4 separate regions of the Homo sapiens genome follow, and regions 2, 3 and 4 are each linked to region 1. Evidence: promoter capture Hi-C in 16 types of primary human blood cells and fetal thymus (Javierre and others, 2016). All regions are on one chromosome and are shown on one strand. The core of a region is centred on a gene start or on the middle of the fragment in contact, and the rest is flanking DNA. Distances in the headings are between cores, read along the strand shown. Region 1 holds the start of MEGF9 (multiple EGF like domains 9). Region 2 overlaps C5 (complement C5). Region 3 overlaps C5 (complement C5). Region 4 overlaps C5 (complement C5).

Region 1 (3,133 bases), core at 427-2,926:
ACAATTCAGAAACTTTTGTCCAAACGTTCTGACAAAGTAGGCTTTTGTTTTGTTTTGTTTTAGTCCTAGGCCCACTTAAGATTTAAACGGGGAAAGAATACGAGTTGTCTTTAACTTTGCTTGAAGACTTCAGCAAGAAAAGCCTTTTCTACGTGGGCTCAAACAGAAATTGGCATATATCAGCATCAGCAAAGTTGAACATCCTGGCTTAAGGAGACAAAAATAGGCATCCTTGCTTAAATGGTGTATTTGGCCAAACATGTTGACCTTATAATTGTGGAAGAAAAAAATGGTGCGAGGAAGAGATTTAACCTAATTTGTAAATGTGCTCAGCCTAGATACACACCTGTCCCAAATGACCTACTGAATCCACTTATTTGCAGGGACAACATGGATTACAATGCCTTTTTTGTTTTTATTTTTTGCCCTCAAGTGGTCCATACTACTGTTTGTAAACAAAATCCTCTCACTACCTCTCTTCCACCTGTCATACACACACATCTGATATTTACATAAACAAGAAGAAATGAACAGGGAAACTGGAGCTTTGGGAGGAATTCCTTACCCTCAGCTTTTGACCCAGTGGTTGAAGGAGGTACTATGCGGGCTTTCAAACTTCCCCAAATAACCCAGGCAGAGAGGCTGGGTGCGCGAACCCAACCCAAAAGTTTGCGCCCATTCTGGTCTCTGAAAAAGGCCAGAAAGCCCTGTTGGGAAGAAGATGAGATGCCTTCCACCCAGCAGCCACCCCCTCCCGAGGGAGCACAGCCCACGGGGGACAAAAGACTTTCCAGATTGATCGGGGGCGGGAGGGAGACTAGCTGGACCTGGGATCCCCCCTCGGGAGCCGGAACCTGGGGTGTCTTTGGGGTAACAAACGATAAATTATAGGCAAGAGCCCAACCCTAGATTGCCGGGGCTGAGGTGAGGACGGGTCCTGCCCGAGAGGGAGCGCCGGACTCACCTGGAGGAGGCGAAGAGGGGGCCTCGGTGGCAGGTGGGGTGGGGAGGACGCTGCTGTTGCTGCTGCTGGGGAGATCGGGGGTCGGGGTCCGGGGAGTCGTGGGCGCCGGTACGGTGGTCGCTACAGGGGTGGTCGGCGCCGGGCCAGTGGTCGTCGAAAGGGTGGTCGGCGCGGGTCTGGTCGGCGCCTGAGAGGTGGTCGAAGTGCGTTCCGCCGCCGGAGGGGTGGTCGGCGAGGGGCCGAGCGGCGCCTGAAAGGTGGTGGAAGAGGGTCCAGCAGTCGCCCAAAGAGGGGTGGTCTCCGGGGACTGGGCTGGAGAAGTCGCAGCCAGGGGTCGGTGGACGGTGGCGCGCGGGGGCCCGGTCCTCGGGGCCTGGGCCGTGGGAGCCGTCGCCCTAGGGAAGGGGTGGCTGGGCTCGCCCCGCAACCCGGGGCCCGGCGACGCGTCCACCTGCCCCGCGGCCCCGCCGCCACCGGTGACATTCCCCGCCGAGGCGGCTGAGGCGACGGCGGCGGCGGCGGCGGCGGCGGCGCAGCACAACAGGGCGAGGCCGCCCAGGCTCGGCAGGCTCCTCATGGCGCGCTCGGCTCCGCCATTCATTCATTCAGCCAGTCGGTTGGTCAGTCATCTTCTCCTCGTTGCAATCCGACCAAGGAAGCCTCCGCAACCGCCGCCGCCACCGCCACCGGGCGCACCATCGCCACCTCCCTCTGACAGGCGGCCGGCCCCGCGGGCGGGCCCCAGCGCGGAGGGAGCGACCGGACCGAGCGCGGACCGCCCGCCCTCCTCGATTGGCAGCCGCGCCTAACCAATGGGAAGCCACAGTCGCCCACGTGATCCGCCCGCTTCCCGGCCTCTTTGTAGCCCCGTAGGCCAATCAGAGGACGTCCAGGAGAGGGGGCGGTCCGTGAGGCGGGAGAAGGGTGGTGCGAGCCCAGCTCTAGCCCGCCGGGCTCGCGGCGGCCCCGGCTTTGTCTGCCCAAAGAGTGGGGCGCGGGCCTCGGGCACCGGGCGCCGCGGAGCAGACAAAGGATGCGCCCCGCGCGGCAGACGCCGGGCCTAGTCATCTGCTCCACCGGGCTGCGAGCACGAGCGGGGGGTGGAATCAGCACTCGGGAGCATCCCCGCCCTCCTGAACAATGGGGCGCCAGCGCCGCACCCCAGCTCGGGCGGGGACCGCGCGGGAACCCCGCGATGGGAGAGGGCAGCGGCAGCGACGATGTAGAGCTTGGCATGCCCTCTGCTGCTCCAGAGAGCCTGGTCGCAGCCTTGCGAGGTCTCTGCCGCCATTCCCATTTCAGAGATGGGGAAGCTGAGGCCCTTGCTGAGGGCCTCCCTGAACCGAGACCCACGCCCTCACCAGAAACCTGCTGTGGGCCAGGTGTTGTGCCAGACTGGACAAGGGGGCGGGACCGGGCGGTGGAGACCCCTGAGGGCAGAAGGTGCAAGCTTCCTGCGTGGAGGAGACAGGCTCGCAAGCACACTTACCTAAACCCCGGGAAGAATAGGATCAGACAGGGTTGAACCTCAACTTGATGTCTTTTGCTGAATGGTTTTGTGGCCTGAGCGCGGTTTTTTCACCACTAAAATGGAGATGATAGGACACCCCTCACCCCCCACCCCCCTCACAGAGCTGTTGTGAGAATTAAGTCATGGACGTAAAGGGCTTAGCCCAGAGCCTGGCCCACTGTTGTAACCCTCATTAATGCTAACTATTCTCAGCATTTGCGCCAGGGCAAGCCCAGGATTAGAAAGCAGCCCCAGGCCACAGCCCTTCAGTGCCCCCAGAGCCTCCGGCTGGTTGCAGGGGTTGGGGTGGGGCTAATAGCCGAGCTTGACCCTGGATGACACTAAACCCTGAATCAAGCTGGAATTCGGGCACGCAGCCTCGCATCATCCGCCCAGGATCCAGAGCTAGGTCAGGCGCTGCTGCTTCGGCTCAGCAGCTTCCAGAGGAAGCCAGGCAGGGCGGGTTTGTCATCTGATGGGGCTTAATTCAAGCCCCACTGCTAACCCAATCCCGGCCTCCCCTACGTGATGTTTGGCTTTGTGCATGGTTTCCCATTAGTCATTGGTCTTCAACCAGACCAGCAGGATGAGATTTATGTGTGAACCCGTGTATGTTAATTAAAGCATGCATTTATTTTCCTGCATGAGTAGTGGGTGGG
Region 2 (3,133 bases), core at 324-2,823, 330 kb after region 1:
CAGTGTATCCATAAACTTGAATCACAATATTTTCAGATGCTCCAACACGGAATATTTTTGGTGCTGAAATGACATATCTGTTGAAAAAGGAAAAGATAAGGCTCAATGTCTTTATATGACATATTTTCTTTTACTTTTGATTTTTTTCTCTCACTTGAGAGATTCCATTTAAAATACATATATTTCCTCACTTAAAAATGATACTAATAAGTCAAAATGTACTTGTGACCCACCATAACTTCAGCATAATTTCCAAGTAGTTTGGAATTAAGACCTGAGAAGCTGGAGGTTTAGTTTACATTTAGAAAGTTAAGGTGATAGCAGCACTTTCTCTTAGCTACTGCAGCCAAGGAAGACTTTTAATCATGTTGACCAGAACATGTAAATGGGGTCAATATTTTTTGCTCAATGAAGAAAAAAGCAGTGATTGAATTCCAGCTGTGGCATCTGCTGGCTGAGTGACCGTGGTAAAGTCACTAAGTCTTTCTGAGGCTAAAATAACTTACTGTGAAAATAATCGCCTTCTTTACCAGGCTCTGGTAAAGATTAAATAAGAACATATATATGAAAAGGTCTAGCACTCTTAGTACTCAATACATGTTAAGATTTATTAATCTCACTAAATTAGTTTAAAGGGAGTGATCTTAGAAATACTATGTTATACTAGTAAACGGATAACGGAAAGGATAGAATATGAGTGAGCTGGGAAGTGCATTTGGAAATGGAAATAGTGATGATGGTCCTTTAAGAGCAAATCATCATCTTCAAACAATAATGGTAATTAAGTACTTGCCACATATCAGAGGCTGTATCAGCACTTTACATACAGCTCTTGTTAATTTTTACAATAAGCCAATGATGCTGGTACTATCATTATTCGTACTTTGCAAGTGGTAAAAGGCTAACTTGGCTAAGGTTATACGGTTTGTAAGTAAATGGGGGAGGCCTTTATATGAGTTCTCAGTTGTTATGTGTACAGTTGAGGTCAAGTTTATATGTTATTCACAACCATAGACTGTTCTCTTATTTTTACTTTTCATGTGATTTATACAATAATGGAAGTGAGTCTATACATGCTTTTGAGTGATTTTTAAAAATTATTTTATTTAAAAACTTACAAATATAAACTGGATTACTAAGTGTATATCACAAGAGTATCTAATTTGAATAGCGAGAACTACATACGCTATTACATAGGAAAAAAAAGTGTTTTAACCCAAAAGGGCATAGTGATCGACTAATTCAAGTGGCCCAACAAGCTTGGAGGGCACCCACCACCCCACCTGGCAGAATTATTCCAGGCTTCTGCCAACATTGTGACATTTTAAGAGTCTGGTAAAAGCAGGAAGTTTTTAGTAACAATGGAATTAATTTATCAGCAATTAAATCCTTTAAAGCATCTGACAGTTATCCTGCATTACAATTAATTTGGATCCACTTACAGGCAAATTACAAAAGAGAGGAAAGAATTTCCAGATTTCCAACCATCATCTGAATTCCCCTTCCCCACATGCCTAGTAGGAGATGGCAGAAAATGAGAGGAGTTCAGTTTTTATGATAATAAGATATATTTACTGAAATTTTGCCCTGTGATAAGGCACTATTCTGAATACTTTATTTGTATAAACTCATTGTGTCATTACAACCACTCTGTGAGGAACTATTACTCCAATTTTAAGGTGAAGAAACTGCTAATTAATTTTCCCAAGGCCACACATATAGGATTTATGAATTCTATAATTCACAAATTATAGAATTAGAAATCGAACCTGAGCAGCCCGTTTCCAGAATTAACATTTTCAACTGTTGTACTAAATGGAATTTATAAAGAGTTTTGTAATTAGAAAAATTTAGGGATATAAAGCTACTTTAATTTCAGTATTTATAGAAGCTTTATGTTTTTAAGTTTAGTATTGCTTTAATTTTGAATTGTGTATGGTAGGGGTCCCCAACCCCTGGGCCATGGACAAATACCAGTCCATGGCTTGTTAGGAACCAGGCTACACAGCAGGAGGTGAGCAGTGGGGCAAAGGAGCATTACCACCTGAGCTCTGCCTCCTGTCAGATCAGTGGTGGCATTAGATTCTCCTAGGAGCATGAACTCTATTGTGAACCGCACATGCGAGGGATCTAGATTGCAAGCTCCTTATGAGAATATAATGCCTGATGATCTGAAGTGGAACAGTTTCATTCTGAAACCATCCCCACCCCAATCCTGGTCCATGGAAACATTGTCTTCCACAAAACCTGTCCCTAGTGCCAAAATGGTTGGGGACTGCTGGTCTATGTGATGGTAGCCGTCAAGCAAAAATACATAGTGTTTAGAAGCCCCTAAAAGAATATTCTGGAACCACCCTTTATAAAGATTTTGGTTCTTATTGACTTATCAGTAGCATAATCTATCCATATAAATAATTTCATAGTTTTCTTTGTCTTTCAATTGCTGCAGAGGAGCAGGAGCTTGCAGAGAGGCAAGAATGTTATTTTGGCCTCTATCTGGAATGCTCTTTCCTCAAATATTTGCATGGTTTGCTTCCTCACTTCCTTCAGGCTCTGTTTGAGTGCAGCCTCCTTAAGAGAACCTTTCCTGGCCACATTTTAAAATAGTGCCCCATAATTATTTTTTAATTCTCATACTCTGCTTTATTTTTTTCTTCATAATACTACCTACCTGACCTTACACATTCTTTCATTGGTTCATTCATTCATTACTTGCTTCTCCCACTAGAATGCAAGCTCTAGGAATTGTCTTACCGTTTGCTATATCTGCAGTGCCTATCATATGTTTAGATGCTCAATAAATATTTGTTGAATCAATCAATCAACCAATTAATTAAAGTGATTGATTGCCATGTTGTAAATGGTACACTCTGACTTCTTCAGAGAAAGTGAGGAAATAATTTTTATTAAGGGCTAGTAGAAAGAATTCAGAATAAGTCTGGACAAGAATCATGGAACCCAGGTCCTAGCCCTAGTTCTGCCACCAATTTGAAGTCACTTAATTTCAGTCTCTCTAAGCCTTAGCTGCTCGTCTTTCAAAAAGAATAAAGGCAGGATGCTAAGGTAGTTGAGTGCTTGTGGCCATGTAAAAAGATCACAGATCAGAAATACGAGGGTGCTAAAAAAGAATGAC
Region 3 (3,133 bases), core at 239-2,738, 320 kb after region 1:
CTTGCAAAACTAACCCCCAATTCTCTACCTCCCCATGTATCAACGACCTTTGCACAGTTCCTTGTGTCCACAAAGTGTGGGAGGGGTCTATTTCCTCTGGGCTGACCTTGTAACTTGCTTTGGACAAAAGAATGTGTGGAAGTGATGGTGTGCCAGCACCAAGCCTAGGCTCAGGGGGACTTTCATGCTTCCATTGCCTCTTTGAGTGTTGCTGCTGCTACAAGCTAGCCTGCTGGATGATGAGAGGCACACACACTTTTAGCCCCATCCAACTGCCAGACATATGGACAGGACCTTCCTAGACCAGCCAGCCCCCAGCTGACCTACCAACTGGCTGCAGCTACATGGGTGAGCCCAGCTGACACCAGCCTGGCCCAGATCAGCAGAACTTCCCAGCTGACTCATAAATGTGGGAGTTTCAAGGCACTGGGTTTTGAAGTAGTTACGCAGCATTAGCTGGCTGATTAAATCATTAAAAAAAGATAGGAAGTGAATCCTTCATATCTCAGTCCCAATATTCTAAGTTACCCTAGTTTCTAAACACATACACCAAACTTAGATCTTTGGCACTTTTCTTTGTTTTTGCTGTTGAATAGCCAACAAAGCTAAACTCAGAATCAGCTAAAATCAGAATAAGCAAATGAACTACCAGCATGATGTCTCCTTTATCAATTAGTCCCCAAATCATGGCACACTTTGATAATAAATCACAGATCTCACTTTGGGCAACTATCATCAACCAGAGTTGAGTTAATTTGAAAAATAAAAATAAAAACAACAAAAAAACAAATGTTCTTACCTTGCTTTTATAGTAATTTCAAAATTCTTAAAGTTCTTGTAACCAATGAAATTATATTCTGGCTCGATTGAGACAGAAAAATGTGGCAAGACTGAAAATAAAAACAAACAGGTAATATTACCATTTTGATTAGAGCAGACTTTAAAGCCTAGCAAACAGCTAGACTTTCTGGTATAGTTGGACAAGCTGTAACATCAACACAACATCCACTTTATTATCATAATCATCATCGTCATCATCGTCATCACCAACAACAATCTCTGCAGAACCTTCCCACTCCAACAATCAGAGGTCAATCCAGAAGCACTTTGCCTATATTTTGATTACAGCATTTATTATAGGCAATAGGTTATTTCTTCCATTAGAGTATAGGTTCCTTGAAAACAAAAAAACTTTTCAATTGTGACATAACATAATGAAATTTGCATTTCAAGATTATTTTGGCTAATACCAAGCAAGATAGCTTGGAAGCAGAGACATCAGTTAGGAGGCTTTTGCTGTAGTCCAGGAGGGAGAGTGCTGATGAATTGATGAGAGTGGCTACAGACAGTAAGAGGTGGGTGGATTCTAGATATACAGAGAAAATACAAAAACACTTAGAAGAAGGGAGATGGGTTAGGATTATATGTTACAGAGAGCCTGTAATCTTTAAGGTTGAGTTTCATCATAACGAATTTGTTTTGTCACTGTTTTTCTTGTTAATTGTTAAAATTTGTGTCAGTATTTATTCTTCTCCATGTCATTATGAATCTCTTGAGGGAATAAAAAATGGCTTCAAGCAGAAGAAAGTTAAATTTGATAGCAGAGCACACAGAAATGCTAGTAAACTACTATAAGAAATGAAAGATTAAACTATTTACGTTACTTGTTAGTCTATTAATATAATTTATTTCAAAATAAGAATATCTTAAATATTCAAATGAATATATTAGGAATTTAGGAGCCAGAAAATAGTGTTGGACTAGGGGTAAGGAAACCTAATTGTTGTTTTTGTTTTGTCACTAATTGGTTTTAAGACTCAAGTAAATCATTTATTGGTTTTACTGGGTTCCACTCACCTCATCTATGACTATTTAAGTTTCTCCTAATAATAATCACAATTCTAGAAAGGATCTTTACTAGTCAAGCTCTTCAGGGGACTAGATCTCTTCCAGCTCTCTGATGGGGAACACAAGTACACAGAGGTTGTTCTGCTTGATCAGGGTTAAAGGCATGCTGGAACTAGAATCTAGGCATTCAACTACTACTCCTCCCTCCAACCTCTAGCCAGTACTTCTAGCCATACGTACAGGCTGCCTCATCTTCATCTGGGAATAATTTTGCATTAACTACATTATTAAAAAGAATTATTGCAAAACACTAACTTTTTATAGAAAAACTTTTAATTGGCTGGGTGCGGTGGCTCATGCCTGTAATCCCAGCACTTTGGGAGGCCGAGGTGGGTGGATCACGAGGTCAGGAGTTCAAGACCAGCCTGGCCAAGATGGTGACACCCTGTCTCTACTAAAAATACAAAAATTAGCCGGCTATGGTGGTTGGTGCCTGTAATCCCAGCTACTTGGGATGCTGAGGCAGAGAATTGCTTGAACCCAGGAGGCGGAGGTTGCAGTGAGCTGAGATCGTGCCACTGCACTCCAGCCTGGGCAACAGAGCGAGACTCCATCTCAAAAACAAAAAACAAAAAGCAAAGAAAAACTTTTACTTGTCAGAAATTACCATATTCTTTAACTTCAAAATATGCGGTTCCAGTTGTTGAAAAGTCCTCTTTATATTTAGCCTTGATCGTCCACATACCATATCTGTGGAAGCAAAATATTTAAAATTATAGATGTCATCAAATGTTTTTAATTCACTCAGAGGAGATCTAATAAATTCCTGTTTTAAAGAGGGAAGAATACACAAAGATATATAAAACCTAAGTAATATATTTTATTTGTGACTGATTTTTAAGCAATAAATAATTGAGCATTTTTAGGATAATAGATAATAGATATTGTTTAGTAACCAGTTTTTCATATATTGTATTATTTTTCCTGGTATTTTATCTTAATACAGTCATTAGTTTTGATTTGAAGAACTTATTATTTCTGAGAATTTATTTAATCTTGGAGCCTAATTATGCTAACATAATACTAAAATCCAAAATACAGTACAAAATCCATAATAACGTCTCTAGAAACATATAATACAAGACAAGCTTATACAGATGATAAAATTTACACCTCACAAAAATGAATTTATGGTTGGAAACAAAGCATGGTTTTTAAAAGATGAAAATGACCTGGCTTTAATTAATAACCTTTATTCAAAAACATATACTAGGCCAGGTATAGT
Region 4 (3,133 bases), core at 415-2,914, 280 kb after region 1:
AGTGGCATGATCTAACATATGTTTTAACAGGGTCACTTCAGTTGCTGTGTTGAGTATATACTGAAGAGGATCAAGGGCTGAACCCAGAAGACTAAGGGAGACTAGTGTAAGAATCCAGGTGGGAGAGGAAGGTGTCTTGGAACAGGATAGTGTGGTGGAGGTGGTGAGAAGTAGTCAAATTAAGGATATATTTTGAATCCATATCTGCTGGATCAGATGTGAACGGTAAGAGAAAGAGAGGAGTGAAGGATGACGAGGCTTTTAGCCTGAGCAACTGGAGGAATGGAGTTTCCATTATGGTTATTATTCTTTAGTTAATTAACCACTATATGAAAATGCAACTCAAAATCTTCTACTTACCAAGTGCTAGCACTTCCACCCTTCCACACACTGTAAGAGTAGTCAGCATTTCTGTAGGACATAATGCTCAACATCCCTAAGAAGCACAAGAAAAAGAACACGGTGCTTAACAGACCTCCGTTTCTACTCAAAGAACACTTTATCAGGCCCTGAGAATGGTAAGCTTCCTTTGGTGTTGGGCAGCAAGCATATGCTCTGTGGCCAGCATTGAACTTCTCAAAGGAAGTATATGAATTGCTCGAATTGGGAATTATCAAGTAGAACATTCTGATCTCATTCGAAAAGGAAGGAAGTGTTCTGTAGTTTGGAATGCAGGTGCCTTGCCTCTCATTCAGGCATTTTGGTAAGTTGAGCCAAAATGCTACAGAAATAATATTTATTTATATAGTAGAGTCCATCTCATGATTTTTTTGCTAAAATTCTCTTACAAAGTTTTCTATAATTCACAACTTAAATATTAGTTTAATAAAAATATTAGTTTAGAATCACCCAATTTTTATGTGAAATACTTTTTTTTTTTACCTTCTTTTAATTTTTTCTTCAGTTTCTGCTTTTCAATTAATGGGTCAGAATGAAAAATGTTCCAATGATTTCCTGTTTCCAGGTAGTGAAAAACATAGAATACTGGGACAACGCTCATCAGCTCCGCCTCTGCACTCCCTTTGGGGAGGTGGGTTAGGATATTGATGCCTTCCTGACTTAGAACTGCAGACAAGATCTCACCTACAAGCAGTCCTGAAACAAAAAAGATCAAAGTAGACACATTGCTTTTTATTAACTTCTAACAGTATGTTCTCAAGAGAGAAGAACAACCATCTAGAGATGGTTCTTCCCTTTTTATCTAGGCAGTTGACTTGCTTCTCAGAAACGGGGTGAGAAAAAAAGATCCGGTTAGGAACATGAATTTGAAAGAAACAAAAAAAAAAAAGACTTTAAAAATCACTAAAATATGGTGGTAGGTAATGTAATACAGTGGACTGATTGCTGCAAGAGAACATGGCAAATTAGTTGCCATTCAACCTGTTAGCTTTAGACATTATAAACCATATTTACCAATCCCTTCCAGGAAGCAAAGCAAAGAGCCTGAACAGGGAGTGCTGACATGACTGTCTATAATTCACTGTGCAACCTTGGACATGCCACTTTCTTTTATATCCAACAGCAGGGTTGCACATGATCAAAAAGATCCTTTCCAGTACTAACATTTTGTGATTCTAGGGTTTTATCTGAGATAAAATGTAGTCAGGACATTCTATCATTCGGTAATATGTTATTGAATTGTAAAGCCTGGAGACTAAGGAAAACCTAGTCACTTGTGCAAATATCACTTCTGCAAATGTATGCGAGGGGAGGAGAATCCCTGCTATGGTTTGAATGTATATGTCTCTCCAAAATTCATACACTGAAGCCTAATCACCAAGGTGATAGTATTAGAAGGTGGGGCTTTTTGAGAGGTGATTAGGTTATGATGGCTCCACCCTAATGAGTGGGATTAATAATCTTATAGACGAGGTAAGAGGAAGTTCTTCACCCCTTTTTGCCCTTTTGCCTTTCCACTTTCTGCCACAGGAGGATACAGCAACATATATCCTCATGGAAACAGAGAGCAGCCCTTGCCAAACACCCAATCTCTTGATGCCTTGATCTTGGACTTCCCAGCCTCCAGAACTGTGAGAAATAAATTTGTATTATTTATAAATTTTGTTATTTTGTTATGGCAGCATAAATGGACTAAGACAACCCTTCTGGGACCAGTACTTCAGCAGAGCAGTGCTGTTCTCGCTAGGCCATGTGCAGGCCATAGGCCTTCTCTGGAGCGGGACTGGCCACTAAGACCATGGAAAGTTCTTTAAGTCTAGAAGCAACTGGACCCCCATTTTAGAGACATCTTTGAGCCAATGACAGTCCCTACCTTCCATTGGAGGAGAATGCATCTCCATGTAAATCAGGCCGTTGGAAGAAGATAGTGGGAAAAGTGATTAAAGGTTTGAAAGTGGGGGTGGGTAGGGGTGGAGCACTCCTAAAGGTAGATTTGTGTGTGCTACTGAACACGGAAGTGGAGAAACAGAATAATCATGAGGATATTTGATTTTTGTTTGAAGCACCAAGTGAAATGAGAAATAAAAATGGCATTTGTTAATTTACCTTTTACACTCAAAATCCTTTTGATTTCTGTTTTGGGGACCAAATCTAAGGGTATCCTGTATGGGAACTCCTTTCGTCTGCTAATGGTACCTGTAATTTAGAAAATTTGGATTTATACAGAGTTTCCAGGGGAAGACTGTTTGCAGATTATTTATAATGTATCTACTTCCAAAGAATATTTCAAAATAAAAGACTTATAATTAGACTATTAAAATTTTAAAAGAAAGTTAAAAATCATCAAGGACTTTAATCAAACCCTAGGCTTGTATAATCTTATTAAATAAAGCATTAAATTTGGCTGTAAGCTTCCTGGTCATTATAAGATGTGAAATAAATAGGTTATATAAATCTTATTCACCAGCAAAATATAGCATGCCAGCTTGCCCAAAGACAGAAAATTGTTCCTGGAACTGAAAGCTAAGAATAACTAACATGTAATTTCTTAATCAACTATATATTGAACATTAGCTCCACAGGGAAGTATGATCTGAAATTCTTTCCACCTTCCCTTCCCAGTCTAGTTTTGATACTTTTTAATCTATGGGCAAAACAACAGAGTTTTAGCATACTGGTATCAGATAATTTTTCTACTGTGATCACTGGTTTATGTCCAAAAAAAGGTAACATT

What was found. The method cuts DNA at HindIII sites, captures the fragments that hold promoters and counts their contacts. A CHiCAGO score of 5 or more calls a contact.
Region 2: a contact is called between a fragment that was not itself captured here and the fragment with the promoter of MEGF9 in region 1, in 9 of 17 cell types (erythroblasts, activated CD4 T cells, monocytes and 6 more). The highest score is 9.5, in erythroblasts.
Region 3: a fragment that was not itself captured here is called in contact with the fragment with the promoter of MEGF9 in region 1 in 1 of 17 cell types (activated CD4 T cells); the score reaches 6.5 in activated CD4 T cells.
Region 4: a fragment that was not itself captured here is called in contact with the fragment with the promoter of MEGF9 in region 1 in 4 of 17 cell types (total CD4 T cells, naive B cells, erythroblasts and 1 more); the score reaches 6.2 in total CD4 T cells.

The regions. Positions count from the first base shown.
Region 1 is chr9:120,712,794-120,715,926 of GRCh38, forward strand. MEGF9 (multiple EGF like domains 9) reads right to left here and starts at 1,677. Exons shown (of 6, transcript NM_001080497.3): 1 at 965-1,677. The coding sequence starts at 1,565. RefSeq lists a silencer at 1,365-2,214. The HindIII fragment of the contact is 2,825 bases long and covers 1-2,412 here.
Region 2 is chr9:121,046,307-121,049,439 of GRCh38, forward strand. C5 (complement C5) reads right to left here. Exons shown (of 41, transcript NM_001735.3): 2 at 1-77. Among named protein-coding and RNA genes, the nearest start is that of C5, 2.4 kb to the right of the region's middle. The HindIII fragment of the contact is 632 bases long and covers 1,258-1,889 here.
Region 3 is chr9:121,029,598-121,032,730 of GRCh38, forward strand. It overlaps C5 (complement C5), which reads right to left. Exons shown (of 41, transcript NM_001735.3): 6 at 2,516-2,598; 7 at 800-890. Among named protein-coding and RNA genes, the nearest start is that of C5, 19 kb to the right of the region's middle. The HindIII fragment of the contact is 3,012 bases long and covers 1-2,994 here.
Region 4 is chr9:120,988,686-120,991,818 of GRCh38, forward strand. It overlaps C5 (complement C5), which reads right to left. Exons shown (of 41, transcript NM_001735.3): 23 at 2,506-2,595; 24 at 883-1,095; 25 at 361-436. Among named protein-coding and RNA genes, the nearest start is that of C5-OT1, 37 kb to the left of the region's middle. The HindIII fragment of the contact is 2,287 bases long and covers 522-2,808 here.